Regions from separate parts of the Homo sapiens genome. Here regions 2, 3 and 4 are each linked to region 1. Evidence: promoter capture Hi-C in 16 types of primary human blood cells and fetal thymus (Javierre and others, 2016). All regions are on one chromosome and are shown on one strand. Each heading gives the region's core, a stretch centred on a gene start or on the middle of the fragment in contact. The rest is flanking DNA. Distances are from core to core; before and after follow the strand shown. Region 1 holds the start of BNC2 (basonuclin zinc finger protein 2). Region 2 has its middle 110 kb from the start of LINC03041. Region 3 overlaps LINC03041 (long intergenic non-protein coding RNA 3041). Region 4 overlaps CNTLN (centlein).

Evidence for each region. The method cuts DNA at HindIII sites, captures the fragments that hold promoters and counts their contacts. A CHiCAGO score of 5 or more calls a contact.
Region 2: a contact is called between a fragment that was not itself captured here and the fragment with the promoter of BNC2 in region 1, in 2 of 17 cell types (endothelial precursors and M0 macrophages). The highest score is 5.9, in endothelial precursors.
Region 3: a contact is called between a fragment that was not itself captured here and the fragment with the promoter of BNC2 in region 1, in 2 of 17 cell types (M2 macrophages and M1 macrophages). The highest score is 7.2, in M2 macrophages.
Region 4: a fragment that was not itself captured here is called in contact with the fragment with the promoter of BNC2 in region 1 in 1 of 17 cell types (erythroblasts); the score reaches 6.3 in erythroblasts.

What each region holds. Positions count from the first base shown.
Region 1 is chr9:16,869,319-16,871,968 of GRCh38, forward strand. It overlaps BNC2 (basonuclin zinc finger protein 2), which reads right to left and starts at 1,352. Exons shown (of 7, transcript NM_017637.6): 1 at 1,328-1,352. The coding sequence starts at 1,330. The HindIII fragment of the contact is 8,266 bases long and covers 1-2,650 here.
Region 2 is chr9:16,164,267-16,166,916 of GRCh38, forward strand. No RefSeq gene overlaps it. Among named protein-coding and RNA genes, the nearest start is that of LINC03041, 110 kb to the right of the region's middle. The HindIII fragment of the contact is 1,246 bases long and covers 717-1,962 here.
Region 3 is chr9:16,248,318-16,250,967 of GRCh38, forward strand. All of the region lies in intron 1 of LINC03041 (long intergenic non-protein coding RNA 3041), which reads right to left. Among named protein-coding and RNA genes, the nearest start is that of LINC03041, 27 kb to the right of the region's middle. The HindIII fragment of the contact is 957 bases long and covers 870-1,826 here.
Region 4 is chr9:17,461,567-17,464,216 of GRCh38, forward strand. CNTLN (centlein) reads left to right here. Exons shown (of 26, transcript NM_017738.4): 20 at 1,350-1,447. Among named protein-coding and RNA genes, the nearest start is that of SH3GL2, 120 kb to the right of the region's middle. The HindIII fragment of the contact is 966 bases long and covers 830-1,795 here.

The DNA of each region.
Region 1 (2,650 bases), core at 102-2,601:
GGGTAAATGGGAACCATCATAAATCGCACGCTGCTTTCAAAACCACTTTAATTTCTGTCAGCGTTACTGTAACCACAGTCCTGGGCTCTTGCTTTTGTGTGTGTGTGTGTGTGTACGCGCCCCTGCATTTGACAGTCCCATCTCCTACACTCCAGTTGTGACTTTGATCACTGAAACAAGAGATGTCACATTAGGGAGCAGGGAAGAGGAAAAAATGCCAACCCGCTATCTCACCTGTATTCTCATATGTTCCCTCTATATACGGAATACACCATGTCAGATCCCCAAGTGGGGGTAACAATAGCGACGCTGGGAGGAAGCAAACTAAAAAGAAGGGAGTGGTCAAGCCCCATTTCTAACAAATCACTTCCCCGAAAGCGGACAGAGCGGCTCATCACCAGGCGAACTAATTGCACGCTTCCTCGCTGCAAAGAAGTCGCTTCTCGTAGAGGGGCTGTGCTGGAGTCTCGCTTGGCAAAGCCAGCCCATCTCCTCCACCACTTGCACTTGGAACTTTTTTTCAACCTTAAACTCACTTCACAGGAGATTTCACCTAGGGTTTTTCAGCATATATAATTTTTTATTCTGCTCCCTCCCCAGGCCCCAAATCCCACCCTCCAGTCAACGTGCAAGTAAAACAAATCGGCTCCTATAGAATTGCACTTCGAAAAGAGCCGTCTCTGCAAGGTTGATTTTCCTGCCCTGCGTTCTGCACCTTCTCCGTAAAGCCTGCGGGAGCATTTCCTCCCATCTCCATTTACCACGGGAAGATTCCGAATGTGAAGACAAGGGGAGAGGAAGAGTCAACGTGCCGGGCCCGGGCGGCTGCGCCCCAGCGCACCCGGCACCCACGCCCAGCCGCCGGTCCCTCACTCGGCGGCAAGTTGTAAAAGTTCCCGTAGGTCCCAGCCGCCTTCCTCTCTTCCCCGAGCTCCTGCCAGCGCTCCATTCATCCCCCACTCCCCTCCACCTCGTCCCCCCAGCCCGTCCCCAACGCCCTGGAGCCTCCCCTAGCCAGCCGCTCACCTTCGCGCGGAAGCCGCGAGCGGGGCCGACCTTGAGAAGCCCCCTCTCACGTGCACCCTCCCACCTAGAGCTCGCCTCAGAAACTTGGGGCCAAGTTTAGGGGAGGCCACTGGGAGCGCAGCGGGGATCAGGTCGGACCGGGGTTCTGGTCCCCGGCCCGCCCTCCTCAGCGCCCCTTGCCCCTCACGCCGCGGGCCGGAGGGCGGACACGGCCCCCGGGCGGCCCCGGTGGCGCTCGGGCGCGGGGGTCATTTCTGAGGAAGTCTAGAATAAAAGAGGAAGGAGGGTGGAAACTTCTTACCATCTCGGCATGCTGGTTGTCAAGTGCAGCCCCCGCCTCTTGGTCTCCTCTTAGCGGCCGCGCCTGGACCAGCCCCTCGGCCGCCGCTGGCTCCCTCCGTCTCGGCCTTTCTCTCCCTCCCCCTCCGAGTTCCTCCGGGCCTCCGCTCTCGCCGCCTCCGCCTCCCCGCCCGCCCGCGCGCGCCCTCGCCGCGGCCCCTCTGCGCTCAGGTGACTGATTTACACTCGCGCCGGGGTCGCGCTCGCGCCCCGAGTCCCAGCCGGCACGGTTCCCCGGCTCCTCCTCGGGACAAAAAAAAAAAAAAAGGGAACGGCTTGTCCCGGGAGGGGGCTGCCCTGCTCGCGGGAGGCGGGGGACCGGCGGGCGAGGTGACCTCGGCGGCCGTGCAAGCCCCACAAGTTTTTCCTCTCTCTGCAGAATTGTCGTGACTACAATGTTGCTTCCCTTTTGCAAAATAAAAGTCGGTCGTTGTGTTGTTTGTCCTCAGAGGTCCAGGGGCTTGGGGAAGGAGGATGTATGTTTCTCCCTCCCCCCACCGCCCCGTGACTTCTTTGGGGGCTTGTTTGTTGTTTGGGTTGTTCTTGCTCTCTCTTTCTGGGGATGGAAAAAACAACTTTGTGGGGATGGAAAAACAACCCTGGCGCCCCCCCCCCCCCCCGGGGAGCTGCGGGCGTGGAGGTAGAGGTGGCCGCTAGCGCCCAGCTGTCACACACACACAAAAAAAAATTGCGGGGCGGGGGTGGGGAGCGGAGCAAGGAGAGGAGGCTGCGAAACGCCGAGGAAAGGGCGCGAACTTTATTCCGACTGCAGCAAACCGCGGCAGCTCTTTCCTTTTCGGGCACTCGGGCGTCTCTGTCCCCTTTGACCAGTTCCTCCTCCCCAGCCCCGCACGCCCCCTCCTCCCCTGCCCCTTCCCCAGCGTCCCAGCCGCGGCCGACCCGGCTCCCCGCGACCCTCTCAGCCCAGCTCCTCCGCGCGCCGCTGGGGAGAAGGCGAGTGAGGCGGAGGAAAACCCAGCGGACAGAAACCTGGGACGCGAACGTGCTGGGAGAAAAGGCCAAAAGTTGCGCGCAGCTGGGGGAAAAAAGTTTTTCTGGTGGCGGAGCGTTTTGTGCCGGCCCAGACGCCGGCTTGCGGCGAGGGCTTCCTTCCCTTTCCCGTGGTCTGGGCCGCGGGCCTCGGGCTGGAGAGGAAGGAGGCTGTCGCGCCCGCGGGGGAAAGAACAGTCACATCTGTGGGTGACACTCAGCCGACCCAAGTCACCCTGCCCTGGAGACTCAGAAACGCCGACTACAGCCTAAGCGCGCACACGCCTGCAGCTGA
Region 2 (2,650 bases), core at 90-2,589, 710 kb before region 1:
GAAGACTGGAGAAGAGTTTTGAGACTTTCAATAATCTTCCATTGATTTTTAGCACCTCTTTGTTTCTACCATGACTATGTTATCTCAAAAAGAAGAGAAAGATTCTGGAAGAATGAAGAACGTTGGGAATGCCATCATTAAGGTTTGCTTTTATGGACTTTCCTTATTAATTCACTTTCCCAAGACCTATATTTCCCCATGAGTTGACTGACTGATGGAGACAAGGGATTTTTGTCCTCCTACCCTAGAGGCCTTATTATAGGTTGAATTATGCTCCCCTTACAAATTCATAGGTTGAAGTCCTAACTCCCTATACCTCAAAATGTGACCTTACTTGGAAATCAGATTATCGTGGATGTAATTAGTTAAAATGAGGTATTAGAGTGAACCCCAATTCAATATACTGGCATCCTTATAAAAAAGGAAAATTTGCACCCAGAGACACCCATGGAGTGAAGGTTATGTGAAGAGACATGGAGAAGACAGTCGTCTACAAGCCAAGGAGAAAGGCCTGGAACGCCTCCTTCCCTCAGAGCCCCCAGAAGGAACAATCCTGCCAACACCTTGATTTTGGTTTTCTAGCTTCCAGCATTGTGGGTCAATAAATTTCTGTCATATAAGCCACCCAGTTTGTGGAACTTTGTCATATAAGCCCTAGCAAATTAACATTGTCCTCTACATATGTAACTTCAACAAGTATACACGATAAGATACCAAGCTTGGCCAGGGGACAAGGAACTTATATAAAAATCATTACCTCACCTCTAATTTGTTGTGAAGTTTGGGCTAGGCCCTTTTGATTTGTCTTTACTGATGCTTTTTAGAACTCAAGAGGCAGCTTTCAGATGCATTAGCGACCCTGGTGAAAACTGAGTCATGCCAAACACATACTCCTTAAAGAAAGTTGACTACACCAATTCAGGGGACAAAGAGAGAGACAGAAATTTAGATAATGCTGAGAGTTAGCCCACCACCCTACTCAATAGGTTTATGCCTCAGAATGAGTATGAGCTGAGAGGCAGAAATCTGTGGCTCCAATCTGCTGTTTTCTCCTGGTCTCAGTTCTCATGTGCCTTCATGCAAGAGCATCTTTCTGTGGCAAGAGTGGTTCCTGTCTATAAAGATGCCATCTTAGTCCATTTGTGTTACTATAAAGGAATACCTGAGGCTGAGTAATTTATAAAGAAGATATTTATTTGGCTCTTGGTTTTGCAGGCTGTATAAGAAGCATGGCACCAGCATCTGCTTCTGGTGAGGGCCTCAGGAAATTTCCACTCACGGTAGAAGGCAAAGGGGAGCTGGCATGTGCAGAGATTACATGGCAACAGAGGAAGCAAGAAAGGGGAGGGAGGTGCCAGGCTCTTTTTTTAACAACTGGTTCTCGTGGGAACTAATAGAGTGAGAACTCACTCATTACCACGAGGATGGCACCAAGCCATCCATGAGGGATCTACTTCCATGATCCAAACACCTTCCATTAAGTCCCACTGTCAACATTGGGGATCAAATTTCAACATGAGACTTGGAAGGGTCAAATGAACCAACCTATAGCAAATGTCTATTTTCCATACCTCGAGGTGATTTGGGGTTTAAGATACTTGTGCTGTATGAGATGACTTTACCCCCATCCCCATATAGAAGGCAGCTGCATGTGAAGGTTTTCTTCTTATTGATCCAGCTGGTGTGAGGCACTTCTGGTAAGCACAGTGGCATTGGTGGTGGTGACCTTCATGTAGGCATCATACTCCATGACATGGATTGGAGTGAGCACAACAGGCCACAGAGAGAGAGTTTATGAAATTGCCTCTCCTCTCGTTCAAGTTGAATGTGACAATGGAAGGGTAAGACTGATTGGAAAGAGCAGGAAGATCATCTAAGCCAGTCATGTTTAAACTTTTCTTTTAAAGCATCAGATGGTTTTACTCAAGGCATACCTATGTGAAACCCACTGTAGAAAGGAGAAGCTTTCTCTAGACCAGAGTCATCCCAGGCATATATCTCAGGGGGCCAGGCAGGTAATGCAGCTGAGTGAAGTGGGAGGGATGCAGCTCTGGAGAACTGGGGAGAGCTGGCTGTCCACAGAGGCAGCCGCCAGTGGCTTTAGCCCTGCAGGCATGGGTCCCAGTGTTACCAGATGCACTTCCAAGAGAAGCCAGAAAGCCAGATTGCTATGTGAAATGTCTTGATTTTTAAAAACTTCTGGTCTGTCGAAGACACTGTTAAAAGAGTGGAAAAAAAAAAAAAAAAAACCATAGACTGAGAGAAAATATTTGCAAAACACATACCTCATCAAGTACTTGTATCCAGAACATACCAAAAAACTCAACAATGGAAAAACAACCCGATTTAAAAATGAGCAAAGCTCTAAACAGACACCTCACCAAAGAAGATATACAGATGGCAAATTAGCATATGAAAAGATGTTCAACATCATATATTGTAACTCATGGAAATTGCCAATTAAAACAAGATACTACTACACACCTATGAGACTGGCTAAAGTAAAAAACTGAAAACACTATATGTTGGCAAAAATGTGGAGCAATGGGAACTCTTACTATTGTGGAGCAATGGTAAAAATGCAAAATGATATGCTGTCTTTGGAAGACAGTGTGACAATTTCTTACAAAGCTAAACACAATCTTACCAT
Region 3 (2,650 bases), core at 98-2,597, 620 kb before region 1:
CATATTCGTAACTGGATTAGAGAGTTAAAAATTTCCTTTTCTTTATATGAGGAATGATCAATAAGATATCAAAAGTGAATACCAAATAGGAAAGAGGAATATAGTAGCAGAGAAACTAGTATCCCTGGGACCCACAATGACATTTGTGGAACAGCTCATTGTGACTGGCTATGGACACAAAGTGGGCCCTTTGCCTGCCTCCCAGTTAATACAGCATAGAACCTTTTAAAATAAATAGTGTTTTTAACAATAAAACCTCAATTAGCCATCTAACTATCCTCTAACTTGAACTCTCAAGTCGTTGGACAAGCTCATGTTATTCATGACCAATATTTGGACTGATGCTTTAAAGTTTTAGAAAGCACTTTTATATGCATCATCTGGCATAATCTCTGCCACTTTTATCAGCTCCTTAAATACAGATAGGCACAGGAGTGCCTGCCTGGCTTTAGAAAGGCAATCCTTGAATCTCCCAGAAAATTAGCTTATTAGTTATCATATGTGAAATATATTCTGGTTTTATTTTTTTAAATACAATTTAGTTGGTTCATAGGAACATTACTTATCAGAGCCACAAAGTGGAGACAACCCAAATGTCTATCAACTAATGAATGGACAAGCAAAATGTTGTATCTATACAATGGGATATCATTTGACCGTAAAAAGGACTGACATTCTGATACATACCAGACCATGGCTGAGCCTTGAAAGGATCTTGCTAAGTGAAAAACAAGCCAGACACAATGACTACGTATTATACGATTCCATTTATGTGCAACGCGGAATAGGCAAACTTGTAGAGACAGAAGGTAGATTAGCGGTTACAAGGAGGGGGAAGGAGGAATGGGGAGTAATGCTAATGGATATCAAGCTTCTTTTGGGGTGATAAAAGTGTTCTAAAATTAGATAATGGTGAGGGTTGTACAATTTTGAACATACTAAAAATTGCTGAATTATACACTTTAAAGGGTGAGTTTTATGGTATGTAAATTATACCTCAATAAAGATGATATCTTTATCATATCTCATGATGGTATAAAGCCATCTTCTTGGGTTTGAATCCCAACTCTGCCGCATACTGGTTGTGTGATTTTGACCAAGTTACCTAACTTCTCTGTGCCTCAGTTTCCTCTTCTGTAGAGTGGCTGTAGTAAGATACCCTATCTCATAGGACTGTTGGGAGGATTAAATTAATTATTTAAAACGTATAAATTACTCAGAATTGTACCTTTCACACAGGGAACACTGTGGAAAAGTGTCTGCTGTTATTATTATTGTTATCATTATTCAAACCTGGGATTTTTATTTGACACAAAGACCATTCTTTGTACCAAGCTGTGAATAAATCTGTTTAGAATTATAGATGACTTTTTGGTGTGGAGTTTGTTGTCCCTTCCTTGTCTATTAGCTACCAAAGTGGGTATCTGTTTTGTGCTTGGTTGCTTGTAGGTACAAAGGTAGTAATTTGGAGCACAAATAAATATACCCCAGGTCTCACCAGCTGGTGATTATACATACACACACACACACACACACACACACACACACAACAAGCTATGATTTTGAACACTGCATGCGCTCCATAAAGGAGCTTGCACGATCCTGCAGTTTGTTGTTAGAGCGTCAGTGGGCACCAGGTGCCTGCATTTCTTTCCTCTCCTGCATCTCCTTCCCGTCCTTCCTCTATGGCTCCCATAGAGCTGCCTAAAGGAGGCCCTGCTGCCCCAGGACAGTGAGCATCCCCAGAGTGCCATTTCCCACCCAGGCTGCCATCTGTTATGTGCCCAGAGGAGATTGTGGATCCTTGCAGGAAAGAGAAGGATAGAAGCTTCTGTGGCTATGGGATCACGTGGGCCCCAAAGCAGCAGATCCATGCCAGAATCTCACCTTCTCAGGAGAACAGCTCTCCTGTGCTCCAACTCTCATTCCTCCAGGCGTGGCTTCAAACCCTCTCTGCCAGACCAGACTCAAAATAGCTGTTCCTGCATTTTACCCAATAGCTCCCTTTTCCTTCTGCCTCTTTCCCAAAGAAAATGTTACCCATGCAATTAAAGTAACAGTCACAAACAGATGCAAATAAGGGGTGAAAAGTGGGCTTGTCTACACTACCAACACCTGGGACCCAGCTTGGCCAGCCAAAGGCTCTATTCCAATGCGGATAGAGAACTACCATCTTGACATTACACGAGAATGAGGTTAGCAGGGCAGTCTTTTAAAGGAGCAGGCACCATTGATCATTGAATAAATAGTTATTGATCACATACTATGGCCTGGCACTAGACTGGTGCTAGGGATATCATTATGAATAAATGCAGAACTGCCTTAATCCTCATTTGCCATGAGGAGAAACAATAGATGAATGTTGAACACACTTTTCTTTTTCCATTGAAACATCAATGATATGCTACCACATTTGGATCAACAAGACACTTTCCCAGCCTGGCCCCTCCAATTCCCTCCTAGGAGAACAGAAAGATAAACATTCTTTTATCTGAAGTTGACATGGTTTTATTTTCATGAACTAGGAGTGGCCTTAATAGACAACAGGCCCTGCTCTCCAGTCACTGCCAGAAAGAAGAGCTACAGACCATTTATTCTGAAACCACATCCCAAATACTTAACTGACTTCTGGTTCACAATCCTATACAAC
Region 4 (2,650 bases), core at 63-2,562, 590 kb after region 1:
AAGTCAGTCTGATGAATTACATTTACCTTGGGTAATTAATAGTTTAATCTTTTCAAATTCAAATTATTTTTAGCATGAGTCAAACATCCAAACCTAGGAATAGTTCTAATAGAAAAAATTTATTGTAGTTTAGAAATATTAGCTAAATAACTACTCCAAATATTTTAAAAGCTATTATATTTTATTATATTTATATTCATTTAATACCTTTAAAACTTAACAAATGGATTAATGTGAGTATGTCAACACTATCTTGAGTGTGGAAAAACTAAATACCAAAAAGACTAAGTGATGTCTTAGATTACACATTTAGTTGGAACTAGAGTCAAAATTGAAAGGTGTTCTAACACTCTAGTTACCACCTCTGGTTCCTAGGCTCTACTGACAACAAATACCACAGAACAAACATGTTTTGCTTTGAAAAACTAATAATTATTTACAAATAATGTAATAAGTAGCATTATTAATAACTTCAAGTAAAGAAGGATTGAGTATTCATGAGGTTTTCTATCAGTTACCATTATTCTCTAACAAACTATCCCGAAACATCGTGGCTTAAAACAACAGTTTATTATTTCTTAAGATTTTGTGGGTTGACTGGGAAGTTCTTTTGCTGGTCTCTTCTGGGCTACCTCATATCCCTGGATTTTTTCAAACCAAAGATTTCCCTAGTTGGAAGATACAAAATAGCCTCACTCATAGATCGGACAATTGGTCTACTACCTGTCAGCTGGAGTACCTTGGTACACTTCCACATGATACATCAACTGTATTCCTAGCAAGGTGATCCTGGAGCAGCATTCCAAGAAGGGAAAGAGAGAAGCCACAAAGCTTTAAGGCCTGGGAACTGAAATTTACACAATTCATTTCTGCTGCATTCTTTTCGACAAAGCAAGTCACAAGCCAGACTACGTTCAGTGGGTTAGGAAATGGATTCCCCTGCTTGATGAGCAGCAAAGCATTTGTGACCATATTTCGTCTAAGATGTTAGTAAATCCAGTATTTGTTTTAAGTGATCTTCTTAAATCATTAAAATTCTTAATTATTCACATATTTACATTATACCAGGACAACTCATATTTCCTGTAAATGTATTTTGGATACATACTCTTTGCAATTCTTAAATGATTGTGTTCCTCTATAGTTTGGCATGTTATATAAAAGTTTTAGTATTATTATTTCTATTACAGCATATAAAATAAAGCATTTAAAATATTAAAATATTCATTTTAATTATTGTTTACCATAATTATTGTAGAGGTATTCTTCTTTAGAATGGCACTTATTTTTATGCTGCCTTAGACCAAGGTTGTAAGGTATATTTAAATTTATTTCTATTTTTAATCTAGAATGCTACTAATGAACTCACTAAACAGTCATCAAATGTGAAGACTTTGAAATTTGAACTCCTAGCAAAAGAAGAACACATAAAGGAAATGCATGAAAAGTATGGTTTTTGTATTTCTATCCATTGTATTTGGTGCCACCTAGTGGCAACCAGCTCTATTAAACGTGCTCCAAGAAACTGCTAATGTTTACGTTTTCCTTCCCTAGTTCATATTTAAACCTACCTAAGATGAAAGTTTAAGGAATACTATGTATAGCATGATTAATGGCAAGCTATTTACTTTTTTAAATTAGATAATGATGAAGTTAAATTTCCGTTATTAAACATATTTAATTTTGAATAAATACAAATTAATGGCTTCGAGACAATGAATGAAAAACTTTACAACGTGGTGGTTATTTGGCCCCCCAAATATATGATTAGTATTTGTATTGGATTTAATGCCTAAGCTTATAAAGCTAAGGTAAAAAAAGGAAAGTTTTGTTTGTGTTTAAAATAACTGGAGGTTATGGAAGTTTGTACTCTTGTGTTTATCAGTACAAAGATTTTAAATGCTCTATCCCACTGAATCAAAATTATTTTCTTTCTGTATCTTTCAAAGCTACACTATTGCTTAGAAATAGTAAGATGTTTAGATAGAATTCCAGTTGTCACTGATACATTTGAGATATATGTATCTCACAAACACACCTGTAGACCTCATTATAAGTGAAGAGCACTTAAAAGTGATATGAATAGATAAAAGCATTAGACAAAAAGCTTGGTTAATTTTTTAACTGATAATATTTTGAAGTTTATTTATCAATTAAGAGTAAGTCTTGCTTATTGTTTAACAGGGCTCTAGATTAACACTCTTTGAATCCTGGCTTCCCTACCTACTAGGCCTATGCCTAAATTTAATAATATTAAATTAGGTTCTTACGAGGAATAAATGAGTTAATACATGTAAAGCACTTATAACAGTGACTGGAACATTGTAAGCCTTCGATACATGTTAGCTATTGTCATTCTTGTTTTAGTAGTAGCAGCAGCAGCAGCAGCAGTAGCAGTGGTTCTCACAGCATCTACCATTTTATACTTAATAGTTCATCAACTTATGCTAAACAGCTGTGTGGATTGAATCTCAAATTATATTAAATTAGAAGATATTATGGCTAATTTAGTTTCATTACAAGAGTTTGCATTTGTTTATTGAAGTATAAGATTTTTTTCTTATCATTTTTATGCTTTTGATTATCTTCATATATCACTTTGATTTTTCACAGCAATGTAAAAATGTAATTTAAATGAAATAGTTCTAAG